Linked DNA regions of Homo sapiens: regions 1 and 3 are each linked to region 2. The links are contacts of gene promoters, found by promoter capture Hi-C in blood cells and fetal thymus (Javierre and others, 2016). All regions are on one chromosome and are shown on one strand. Each heading gives the region's core, a stretch centred on a gene start or on the middle of the fragment in contact. The rest is flanking DNA. Distances are from core to core; before and after follow the strand shown. Region 1 holds the start of TRD-GTC2-6 (tRNA-Asp (anticodon GTC) 2-6). Region 2 holds the start of HMGN4 (high mobility group nucleosomal binding domain 4). Region 3 holds the start of H1-1 (H1.1 linker histone, cluster member).

What was found. The method cuts DNA at HindIII sites, captures the fragments that hold promoters and counts their contacts. A CHiCAGO score of 5 or more calls a contact.
Region 1: a fragment that was not itself captured here is called in contact with the fragment with the promoter of HMGN4 in region 2 in 2 of 17 cell types (fetal thymus and activated CD4 T cells); the score reaches 5.8 in fetal thymus.
Region 3: a contact is called between the fragment with the promoter of H1-1 here and the fragment with the promoter of HMGN4 in region 2, in 1 of 17 cell types (neutrophils). The highest score is 5.3, in neutrophils.

The regions. Positions count from the first base shown.
Region 1 is chr6:27,479,490-27,482,975 of GRCh38, forward strand. It overlaps TRD-GTC2-6 (tRNA-Asp (anticodon GTC) 2-6), which reads left to right and starts at 185; the gene lies at 185-256. RefSeq lists a silencer at 238-297. The HindIII fragment of the contact is 3,440 bases long and covers 1-3,199 here.
Region 2 is chr6:26,536,994-26,540,354 of GRCh38, forward strand. HMGN4 (high mobility group nucleosomal binding domain 4) reads left to right here and starts at 1,373. Exons shown (of 2, transcript NM_006353.3): 1 at 1,373-1,508. TRR-ACG1-2 (tRNA-Arg (anticodon ACG) 1-2) reads left to right here and starts at 505; the gene lies at 505-577. It overlaps TRV-CAC1-6 (tRNA-Val (anticodon CAC) 1-6), which reads left to right and starts at 1,061; the gene lies at 1,061-1,133. RefSeq lists enhancers at 1-323, 1,584-1,993 and silencers at 357-650, 1,044-1,093. The HindIII fragment of the contact is 7,010 bases long and covers 1-3,361 here.
Region 3 is chr6:26,015,570-26,019,135 of GRCh38, forward strand. It overlaps H1-1 (H1.1 linker histone, cluster member), which reads right to left and starts at 2,218. Exons shown (of 1, transcript NM_005325.4): 1 at 1,463-2,218. The coding sequence starts at 2,163. The coding sequence ends at 1,516. It also overlaps the pseudogene H3P26. RefSeq lists an enhancer at 411-1,410. The HindIII fragment of the contact is 5,921 bases long and covers 885-3,566 here.

The DNA.
Region 1 (3,486 bases), core at 230-2,729, 940 kb after region 2:
GTCTGACAAAGCGTCCGAGGAATGAAGGAGGAACTGGAGAGGATTCGCGGTTGGGCGGAGACACGTTCGCTGAATTGCCTTGCGTATATTTGGTAGGGGAAACGTGTGACTACAGAGCAAAGAAAGATGGACAATAGCGAGTAACTTCACAGGGATTTCCTAAGAGCTCCATTTTCACGTCAATTCCTCGTTAGTATAGTGGTGAGTATCCCCGCCTGTCACGCGGGAGACCGGGGTTCGATTCCCCGACGGGGAGGAGGCTTAAACTTTTTTTTAGAAAAGCACACTTCCGGTAAACACAGTCTCTAGTCTTCTGGGCAAATGTTGGGTTCTCTTTTTCTTTAGCAGAGTTCTTTCAAACCAACGAAATACTGATCGCAAAAACCATAAGCTGTAGAAATCATGAGGTTCTGTAATAGCAAGAAAATTTCCACTCTGCACTGTAATCTCCATCACAGTGGAGAAACCGGGTAGATACCATCTTACCCAAGTGATTGAATCAGTATTGGGACGAATCTACATTATATACCTTTTTTACAGGATGTGCTCATGAGAGCACAACGTCACTTTTGTGGTATTCTTGGCAAAAATATGTAATCTAAATCAGAAAACATCAGACAAACCCATATTGAGGGAGATTTTAACAAAATAACTGACTTGTACGCCTCAAAAACTGCAATTACTTTTGCATCAACCTAGTAACAGGCAAGCAGGGAGGAAAAATAAATAAATAAATAAATAAATAAATAAACAAATAAATAAAATAACAAAGTTACAGAACACAAAGAAAGGCTGACTAAATAGTCCACATTATAGAAGATCTTAAAGATATGACAGCAACATATGGTCTGGAATTTTTATCTTAAAGGACATTATTGAAATAGTTGGTGAAATCTCAATAAAGTCTATAGATTTTATAATATTATGAATGTGAATTCCTGATTGTATTAATTGTTCTATGGTTATAGAACAAAATGTCTTTAAGAAAATTCACACCTATTTACAAAATACGTATTTAAGGGTAAGGGGAGGTATGTGTCTTCAAACTCACTGTCAAATAGTTCAGAAATATACATTTATGTATATATATGAGAGAGAGAAGGAAAAGAAAATATAGGAATATCCTTAATGTGCTAATATTGAGGGAATTGGGGTGAAGGGTGCTCAGGAATTATCTGTATTATTCATGTACTGTGTCTGTCAGTCTAAAATAATTTCAGAATGGAAAGTTAAAAGGAGAAAAGCCTAATAAAACTATAAATGAAAATATACGAATTAAAATGTAAAAGGGCAAATATACAATTTTGAACAATGCATATGACAAGAGTGACGACTACATTAATGAATAGGAATTTAGAACTGATGAAGGAGTGGGATTCAAAATGTTATAAGTGAGCAAGAAAATTCATAACATGTGACAAAAGCTACATAAAGAGTGAATGCCTGAAACAACATTGTTTCGTAATGATTACATGTTGGAATATGAAAACAAATGGTACTAAATTTCAAAACAGCAACGACAATATAAAATGGAAAGGTATGGCGAAATCCAAATCATTCTAAGCTCCTTTATAATAAGGTAGGAATTAGAAGTGTACCTAGTATATACCCTCGACCAACGCTGAATGGATGAATATTAAAAGCAATATTTTTGTGAGCCATAATCAAAGCCAACAGCATTGCTTCTTTAATGAAAGAATACTCTTCCAGCATATAACAATATGTCTGATTTTGTTTTAAAAATACTTATTGGCCAGGCGAGGTGGCTCATGCCTCTAATCCAAGCACTTTGGGAGGCTGAGGCGGGTGGATCACCTGAGGTCTGGAGTTCGATACCAGCCTGGCCAACCTGCTGAAACCCCATCTCTACTAAAAATACAAAAATTAGCTGGGTGTGGTGGCGGGCACCTGTAATCCCAGCTACTCGGAGGCTGAGGCAGGAGAATCACTTGAACCCGGGAGGCGGAGGTTGCAGTGAACCAAGATTGCAGCATTGCACTCCAGCCTGGGCGACAGAGCAAGACTCTGTCTCCAAAAAAAAAAAAAAGAAAAATAATTATTATTAACATTTTTGTCATGAAATTTTGGCCATCAAATTTAAAAGTTAATATTATTGTGCAACACTTTCAGCCAATGGATTCTTTTTTTCGTTAACACTATTGAACAGTAGAGTGATTGATGCCTCATCCTTTTCACCTAACATTGAATCTCGTTTGTCTCTATTACTTCCTTTTAATCTATTATTTCTTTTTTAATCTAGAAGAAAAATGATTCATCGTGGATAAGAACTATAAAGCAATTGTTTTGTTTGTTTGTTTGTTTCTGGCTTTTTTTTTTTTTTGAGACAGAGTCTCGCTCTATCGCCCAAGCTGCTGTGCAATGGCGCAATCTTGGCTCACCACAACCTCTGCCTCCTGAGTTCGAGCCATTCTCCTGGCTCAGCCTCCCGAGTAGCTGGGATTGCAGGCGTGTATTTTGAGTAGAGACAGGGTTTCACCACGTTGGCCAGGCTGGTCTTGAACTCCTGACCTCGTGATCTACCTGCCTCAGCCTCCCAAAATGCTGGGATTACAGGTGTGAGCCACCAAGCCCGACTTAAAGCAACTGTTTGAAGGCACTGATAAGCTGTCAACCCAGGCAAGGCTTGACAAACTACAATCCTTGAGAGAAGGGAAGCACATTATATGAGTTTGCACATTTGAAAGTGCTTTCCTCCTGAAGGTGTGTCCCGTATTGCACCATTGTGGAATAGACCTCATGTGGAAAGAGGCAGTTGTGCTGGACTAAGGAGATACTGGTCAGAGTTTGGGGCTACCAACGTGCATAGAACTTGATGGTCAAAATTCAAGTGATGAGGGAACCACAGAGAAAGATCTCAAATTTGTATTATAAATTCTCCTTATATTACTGGCTAATTCCTAAGTTGTACCTACACAGGAAGATGTTCCAGTACAGGAAAGAGCAACTGGAAGGCTAATGATCTGTAGAGATCCAGTAGCTGCATGGTTCTAGGGAGACAGAGGTTGATGTTCATGCCTCTCCCAGTTGGAGCCCCATTGGTAAAATGGCTGTTGTTTTGAGACTTCAGAAATACTAACCCTTAGCACTAAGTGATAAACCTTTAAAGTAAGGACCACATAAAAGGAGTAAGGCTATGCCTTCACAGCAAGGAAAAACTAAACTAGACAAATTGTAACAAAGCTTCAGTCTTTGTTGTATCCGGGAAAAACTACCAGAAGACTCTGAATGTTTGGAAATAAAGCAGTTTGTGTCCTACACTCTACAGGTCAAAGAAGAAAACACAATATAAATTTTTAAATGTTTTAAGCTGAAAGATAATGAAAATAAGACGTATCATAATTTGTCTAATGCATCTAAAGCTGTTTATAGAGAACAATTTTTACTTTTAACTACATGTATTACAACAATAGAAAGATTGAAAATCCATGATCTAACTCAAGAGACTATAAAAAGCCAGCAATTTAA
Region 2 (3,361 bases), core at 123-2,622:
TTCCCTGTTCCAGATCACTCATTTCCCCGATATCAGCATTTATCCCTCATTCATCACTTTCACTGCTGGCCTTTCCTATCCTCTTTCCCTGTTTTATTATTATTTTTCTCCAATCGCTTATCACTATTATTTTGTTTATTTAATGCTTTATTATCCGCTTCCGCCACTGCCATGTAATCTTGAGGGCAAGGGTCTCTCATGTTTTCTTCACCGTTATCTGCAGTGCCTTGAACACTAATACTGGTTGAATGAACGAACGCATTAATGGAGCGGTGATATTGGGGCAGAGAGGATGCAGGGCTTGCTTTTCACCGCCATTTTTCAGCCGGCAGAGACAGACCGAGAAAGGAATGAAGGCCACGGGGCGTGTGCAGAAGTAGCTACCAGAGAGTCCATGCGCTGCGAGCCTGGACCAGCGGGCAAACGCGGCTTACAGGCGTTCACCCAGATATTACGGGTACAACCTAGTTTCTTATGAAATACCTCGCCCCTAAGGTACGCGCAGGGCCAGTGGCGCAATGGATAACGCGTCTGACTACGGATCAGAAGATTCCAGGTTCGACTCCTGGCTGGCTCGGTGTAAGCAGGGTCGTTTTACAACTTTCTGACTCCGCAGGAGTAAGGAAATTCCTGCAAGATAAATTTGCCTGGAAGACTCAGAAGCAAGAGGGGCAGCTCCCGACAACATATGGGGTTATCATTTCTTTGCGGAGCATTCTGCCACTGACCACGTGGTAACGCCAACTACGCCAGAGAAACGCTCGCCCTACCCAAGTTGTGCCCAGCCTTGCCTGGCCATTTTGGCCGAAGAACGAAGGACCGTTCAGAGATTAAATTAAAGTCTCTATTGTGTTCTTCCCTATTCAGTCATTTGTAGAATAAATTCTATGGCTTCAGTTTGAACACTGGAGGGGCTGGGTCTGAGCTTTTCATTGGTTTTTCTGGTTTGAGAGGTCGGTACAGAGACGCACGCGCACATCAGCAAAACACGCACTTGGAACGAAGAAACACGGAACTAGGCAGGAAGAACTATTTACTCTGAAAAATAAGCCCTTAGTGGGTTTCCGTAGTGTAGTGGTTATCACGTTCGCCTCACACGCGAAAGGTCCCCGGTTCGAAACCGGGCGGAAACACGTTTTTTTTTCCTCATCTTACTACGAAATTCTTCCAGTGTGTATCTTTTAAAGACTTTTTCAGGCTGTCATAAATTTCCTGTCTTCTTGTCTTGCTAGATCGGGGCAGCAGTGCTTAGGGCGGGCCTCAGAGGCTCACACACGTATCGCCAGGGGGAGAACCAGCTCTCTCCGGCTTGGACTCGGGGCGGCTCCCCGCCTGCAGCCCCGGAAGCGCATCCTCACCTTCCCTCGCCTTCCTGTTCCTGGCGGAGCCGGGCTCCGCTCGTCTTCTCTGTCTTAGGGCTGGTGCTGGCCCTGCCCACGCCTAGGGCTCCGGCGCGTCACGGGCCTCAGCTGGGATTCCCGCGCCCCTCGGACGGCCACGAGACTCGGGTAAGTGCCTCACAGACTTTGTGCGCTACCCCGGAAAATGAGGGGCGTGGTGGGGGGGGTCCCGCCGCCCTCCGTATACTTAGGACCCTCCTGCCAGCTGGCCCCGGTCATGATTAGGGGCCTTGGGCCCCGTCAGCCCCGCCTGTCTTCCCGTCTCCAGAGTAATCGCAGCATCTCTCCTGAGCTCCGAGTGTGAATCCCTGGGAAAAGCTGAATCCAGAGGTGGGGTCACAGAGAGCCGCAGGCCCGACCGGGATGAGAAGTCCTAATCGGCGTTCTAGGGGCGTTCTAAAAGAAGGAAGGAAGGGGATTTGAAAGGATTGCTCCCGCAGGGCTGTGGCCTTAAAGAGGTGGTGACTGGCAGGTTGGACTGACCTGCCGTGGGCTCTCCCTTCCTCCCCAATTTACCTTCGAGAAACCCTCGTTGAGGAGACACCCAAGGGCTGAGTCCTCCTCCACTTTGACCTTTTGCTATTCCATCACAAAGAAAAAATGGATCCCAAAGTTAAGAAATGGACCAGCACTTGTTTAGAATCAGGACTGGTGCCTTGGTGTTTGGCCTCTTACCTCTGCCACATGGCTTGCTTACAAGTTAATCGGATTAATCAAACGCTTTTATGAGAAAGTTTTGTTGTGTCACCTGGCAGCCTCGGGTGTTCCCTAAGAGGGATTTCTTTCTTAGATGTATTACTACTTTTTCTAGGGATTAGCCAAGCCTAGCCTCTCAGATCATATTGCTCCAGGTTCCCTCAAATGACTAATAAGAATGTGATGTGTTTGTTTTTGTTTGTTTGTTTTTGAGACGGAGTCTCACTCTGTTGTCCAGGCTGGGGTGCAATGGTGCGATCTCGCTCACTGCAACCTCCACCTCGATTCTTGTGCCTCAGGCTCCCGAGCAGCTGGGACTACAGGTGTGTAACACTACACCCGGATAATTTTTGTATTTTTAGTTGGAGACGGAGTTTCACCATATTGGCCAGGCTGGTCTCAAACTCCTGACCTCAAGTGATCCGCCCGCCTCGGCCTCCCAAAGTGCTGAGATTACAGGCATGAGCCACCGCGCCCAACCGAATGTGATATTTTTATGACCATGAGAAAAGAAGGGCTGCATTCTTTGGTGGGTCCGCAAAATTAAAAAAAAAAAAAAAAAAAGAAAAGAAAAGAAAGAAAAGGACAATGTTAATGAGCTGTTTTCTTTTTATCATTTTCTTAAACAGGCTGCTTGGGTAGACGTTGACTTGAAAGGTCCATTCTTTTGTCATCTTGCTGGTTCCCTTAACAAGACAACACCTTGGCTAGCAAGATAATATCTTGGTTAGCAAGACAATAAACTTGGGCATGTGCTCAACAGCAACCTGTCTAATACATTTTCATTTAAAATCCCCTCTGTACTACTCAGAAATATAAGCAAGTTATTATGGTGCCCAGAAAGGGGGCAAAGGTTCCAGGGTCCTAGGAGATGACAAGGATTTATCCTCTTCATCTTTCTCCGATCCCAGTTAGCAGGAATACTTTAGCCTGGAAGGTGAGTGTGCCCCTAACCAACCTTTACAGATGGGTGACTGTTTGGGAGCTTATGGCTCACTCCTTCTCTTTAAAGCAGATGCATTCTGGCAAGCTGCAGCAGCAAACCTACCCTTTTAGACACCCTGCGTTTTCTCATCTTTCCTTTCTACCCCTGCATCTCCCAGTCTCTCTCACTTAACCTCCGTGGAAACTCATGCTGCGTCTCTAATACTTTGGAAGATGAAGAACAAACGCCCTGGAGAGTGACTGACACCATGTGACCTCTTGCTTCTGTAGCACACTGCATCTTGCCTGTGAATCTTTTTTTTTTTTTCTTTTTTTTTTGA
Region 3 (3,566 bases), core at 968-3,467, 520 kb before region 2:
CAAAAAGCCCGGCTTGGTGGTGCGTGCATGCAATCCCAGCTACTCCGGATGCTGAGGCTGCAGGATAGCCTGAGCCCAGGAGTTGGAGGTTACAGTGTGCTGTGATTATGCCACTGCAGTCCAGTCTGGGCAACAGACTGAGACCCAGTCTCAAAAGATAACGTGTTTTTTTTTTTTTTTTTTTAAAAAAACAAAACCACAAGTATGCATGTATATAGATAGGTGTATGTAAAATACTTAGTTCAAAGAAAAACATGTATATTTCTCACAAAAATAGGTGAGAATTTTTGTTTTAAAGGATAAACCTAGGTAGCTACATATTAGTTTGAGGAAGGGGGAACAGGGATGTGATGTGCCTGTATCCCTGACTTTAGACGATGGAAGGAGCTAAGCAAAACAATTGAAAAAAGACCGTTTGAAAAATACAACTGATTATTAACTCATATGCACACACGCAAAAATAAACTTTTAGAATTGAACTGCACTAAGTAAAAGTGAGTAAACTTGGCTCATCATATACTCTTGTCAGATGTAAACAAAAAAGTCCAATTATTAAAATCTGACCCCCAGAATTAAAATTGCAAAAGCTTAAAGGGGCAGTTCTGAGAAAAGGATCTTCAGTTTTGAATGTGTGGGCTCCACCAGGGTTGAAAATCCTGCACGACTGATGAAACACGATCCAGTTAAGCACAGTAATTTTCAAATATCCAATCAGGGCGCTTCCGTTTCTAAAAACAGAGAAACCGAGCAAGGGATTTTGGGTTGCAGCTCTAAAACTCCAACAAACTAAGCTCCTTTGTCCTGACAAGGGCCTAAACCAAGTCGACAGCCCGTAAGTGCACCCATGGTAAGGCGCTGCACAAAGAAAGCATTTTGCGTTTCAAAGCTTTGTCATGATGGCGCTGCAGAAAGCAAGCGAGCTAGGCCTACCTGGCGGGGCTTTCAGAGGACGCCAACGTGGGCGCCAGCCACGCCAGCAGGGTCACCGTCCTTCCCAAGGACAGACAGCTCGCTAGCCACTCCTGTGGAGAGGGCGTGGTTAAGCCATATATTTTGCCAACTATCCCAGAAGCATTTCTTAGGACCACCCAATTTCGGAAAATGCTACTTTAGCAATATTGACCCCAAAACGCAATATCCCCACTTTAACCTTGTATAATAAAAAGCCTCAAGCCTGGGACTGGGCTTCAACCTTGGTTCAATACGGTTATGACTAATTAGCTTGGAGTCGTGAGACGCGGGACTTCCGGCTACCGAAACCCAGGTGACTTTAAAACTCGATTTTAACTCGGTGCATTTGAATTCACCTTGCTATCTTTGATAGATTGAGTAGTAAATTCTTACTAGATGAGGCTATGTTAAAGTTCTATCGACTCTCCAAGTGATTCTAATATAATTGAGGGCGTGTTGCATTTGCTTGGGGGATTTCATCTGTGTACTACAGCTCTTTTCCTGAAATGCGTAGGTGGCTCTTAAAAGAGCCGTTGGGTTACTAGAAGAAACTTCTAACTGAATTTACTTTTTCTTGGGTGCCGCTTTCTTGGGTTTGGCAGTCTTTGGCTTCGTCACCCTAGCCTTGGCCGCCTTGGGTTTTACAGCCTTAGCTTTAGCAGGGCTTTTAGCTACTTTCTTGGGCTTTACAGTTTTGGGTTTTTTTGGATTCTTGGAGGATTTCCTTGTTGCCGCAGGCTTTTTAGCCTTTTTCGGAGTCTTGACGCTCTTTTTGCTAGCCCCCGTGGCCTTTTTGAGCTTTTTAGATGCACCCGTTGCCTTAGTTTTTGTAGCCACCTTTGAGGCGCCGGGCTTGGTTTCCACGGAGGACGCCTTCTTGTTGAGCTTGAAGGAACCCGAGGCTCCGGTACCCTTTGTCTGCACCAACGTTCCCTTGCTTACCAGGCTCTTAATGCCCAGCTTAATGCGGCTGTTGTTCTTCTCCACGTCGTAGCCTGCGGCCGCCAGCGCCTTTTTAAGAGCTGCCAACGACACACCACCACGCTCCTTAGAGGAGGAAGCAGCCTGCACGATCAGCTCTGACACGGAAGGGCCAGCGGGTTTTTTCTTGGAGGCTGCTGCAGCCTTAGCAGGTTTCTTTGCCTTCTTGCCAGCTAAAGGTTTCTCAGGAGCAGCAGAAGCGGCGGGGGCGGGAGGCACTGTTTCAGACATGGTGACTAACACAGCACACCAAATAAAGTGGTATAAACCTGACGAAGCAGGATGCGAAAAAAAGGCCCCAACGCAGCCTATTTATAGGGTGGGACTGCGCCGTGATTGGTGCCCGTCAGTGCCCGCCCCTCGCGCCCTAGCGCCCCCTGCGCGCTGCCGAGGGTTTCGCCCAGTCTCAGAAGGCAGCTGGGGGCCTCTAGGGCCTATGGTCCTGCTCCCCTCAACGCAAGCAAACACACAGAAAAAGCCGCTCTGGTTGCCTCATTGTGAAGGAAATTGTAGGCAGACTGCCGCCCAGTAACATCAGAGGGTACCGCTTCTCTCTCAAAAAGCAGCTCTTTTTTAGGGAGTAGGTTGAGAGGGGGCGGTTTACAAATGCAGTGCCACAAGCATCCGAGGAGTTTTATTAGAAATTTTTAGAGGTCCGTTGCCAGAGATGTTAGTTTTTAATTTGCAAGAAATGTAAAATACAGTGTTTTGAATAGTTGCGGAGGGAGAGAAAAGTGCGAGTTTTAGGCCGTGTTAGGGCCAGTTGTCATCAACTCTATTACATTTTCTGGCAATGTTTTAGAGCGATGTGTCTCGCGAATACCTTTCACGTCAAACAAGAATGAATCGTAGACAACACCAGAATTCACAAACGCTGCAATTAATACTCAAACTGCAAGTGTGGAAACGTTTCTGCACTTGCAACTTATTTCCACAGTCCAATGTGGGATGCACTTCAGGAATTTCCAATGCCCTTTTCATCCATACAACATGCCCCAAATTGGTATTAAGGTTTACAACCTGTGTTCCATGTCAGCACACGCAATCAGCGCACCATGACATGGTCAACTCATTCTTTTATTCAACAAATATTTATGGGCCTCACAAGCCTGCGAAAGGCGTTAAATGCTGGGTCCACGAAACCGGTTCCCTGACAGGCATTCTGCTGGGGAGTTAAGTCCACTTAGTGTGAAAGCAAACACGGGTGATAAATGCAAGCACACCCTGGGGATAAGATTTTATGGTAACAACCCTTTAACTTGTTTGTGGCTGTTAAGTGCATTTCAAAGTATCAATAAGCTAAAACGATCTCACATTGCCAATCAGAGACTCAGCTAATGGGAGAATAAAAAACTATTAAATCGACATCCACTTCTACAATCCTATTCTGGATAACCCCCTAGCACAGCACAGCAGAGAGTGAGGTAATGCGGTCTTATTTCCGCTCCTGCTGTGGTAGTTTTCAAATAAGTCCGAACCATGCTAAGTAACCTGAGCTTTTCCCCTTTTTGTTCAAACAACGTGCCAACCAAATAATGGAGTGGTCCCAGATAAGTATTGTACCCATCTTCTGCACCAGTGCTTCCTACGTCCCATTTTATTGAGAAGGCATGCATTCAAATATTTCACGTAAT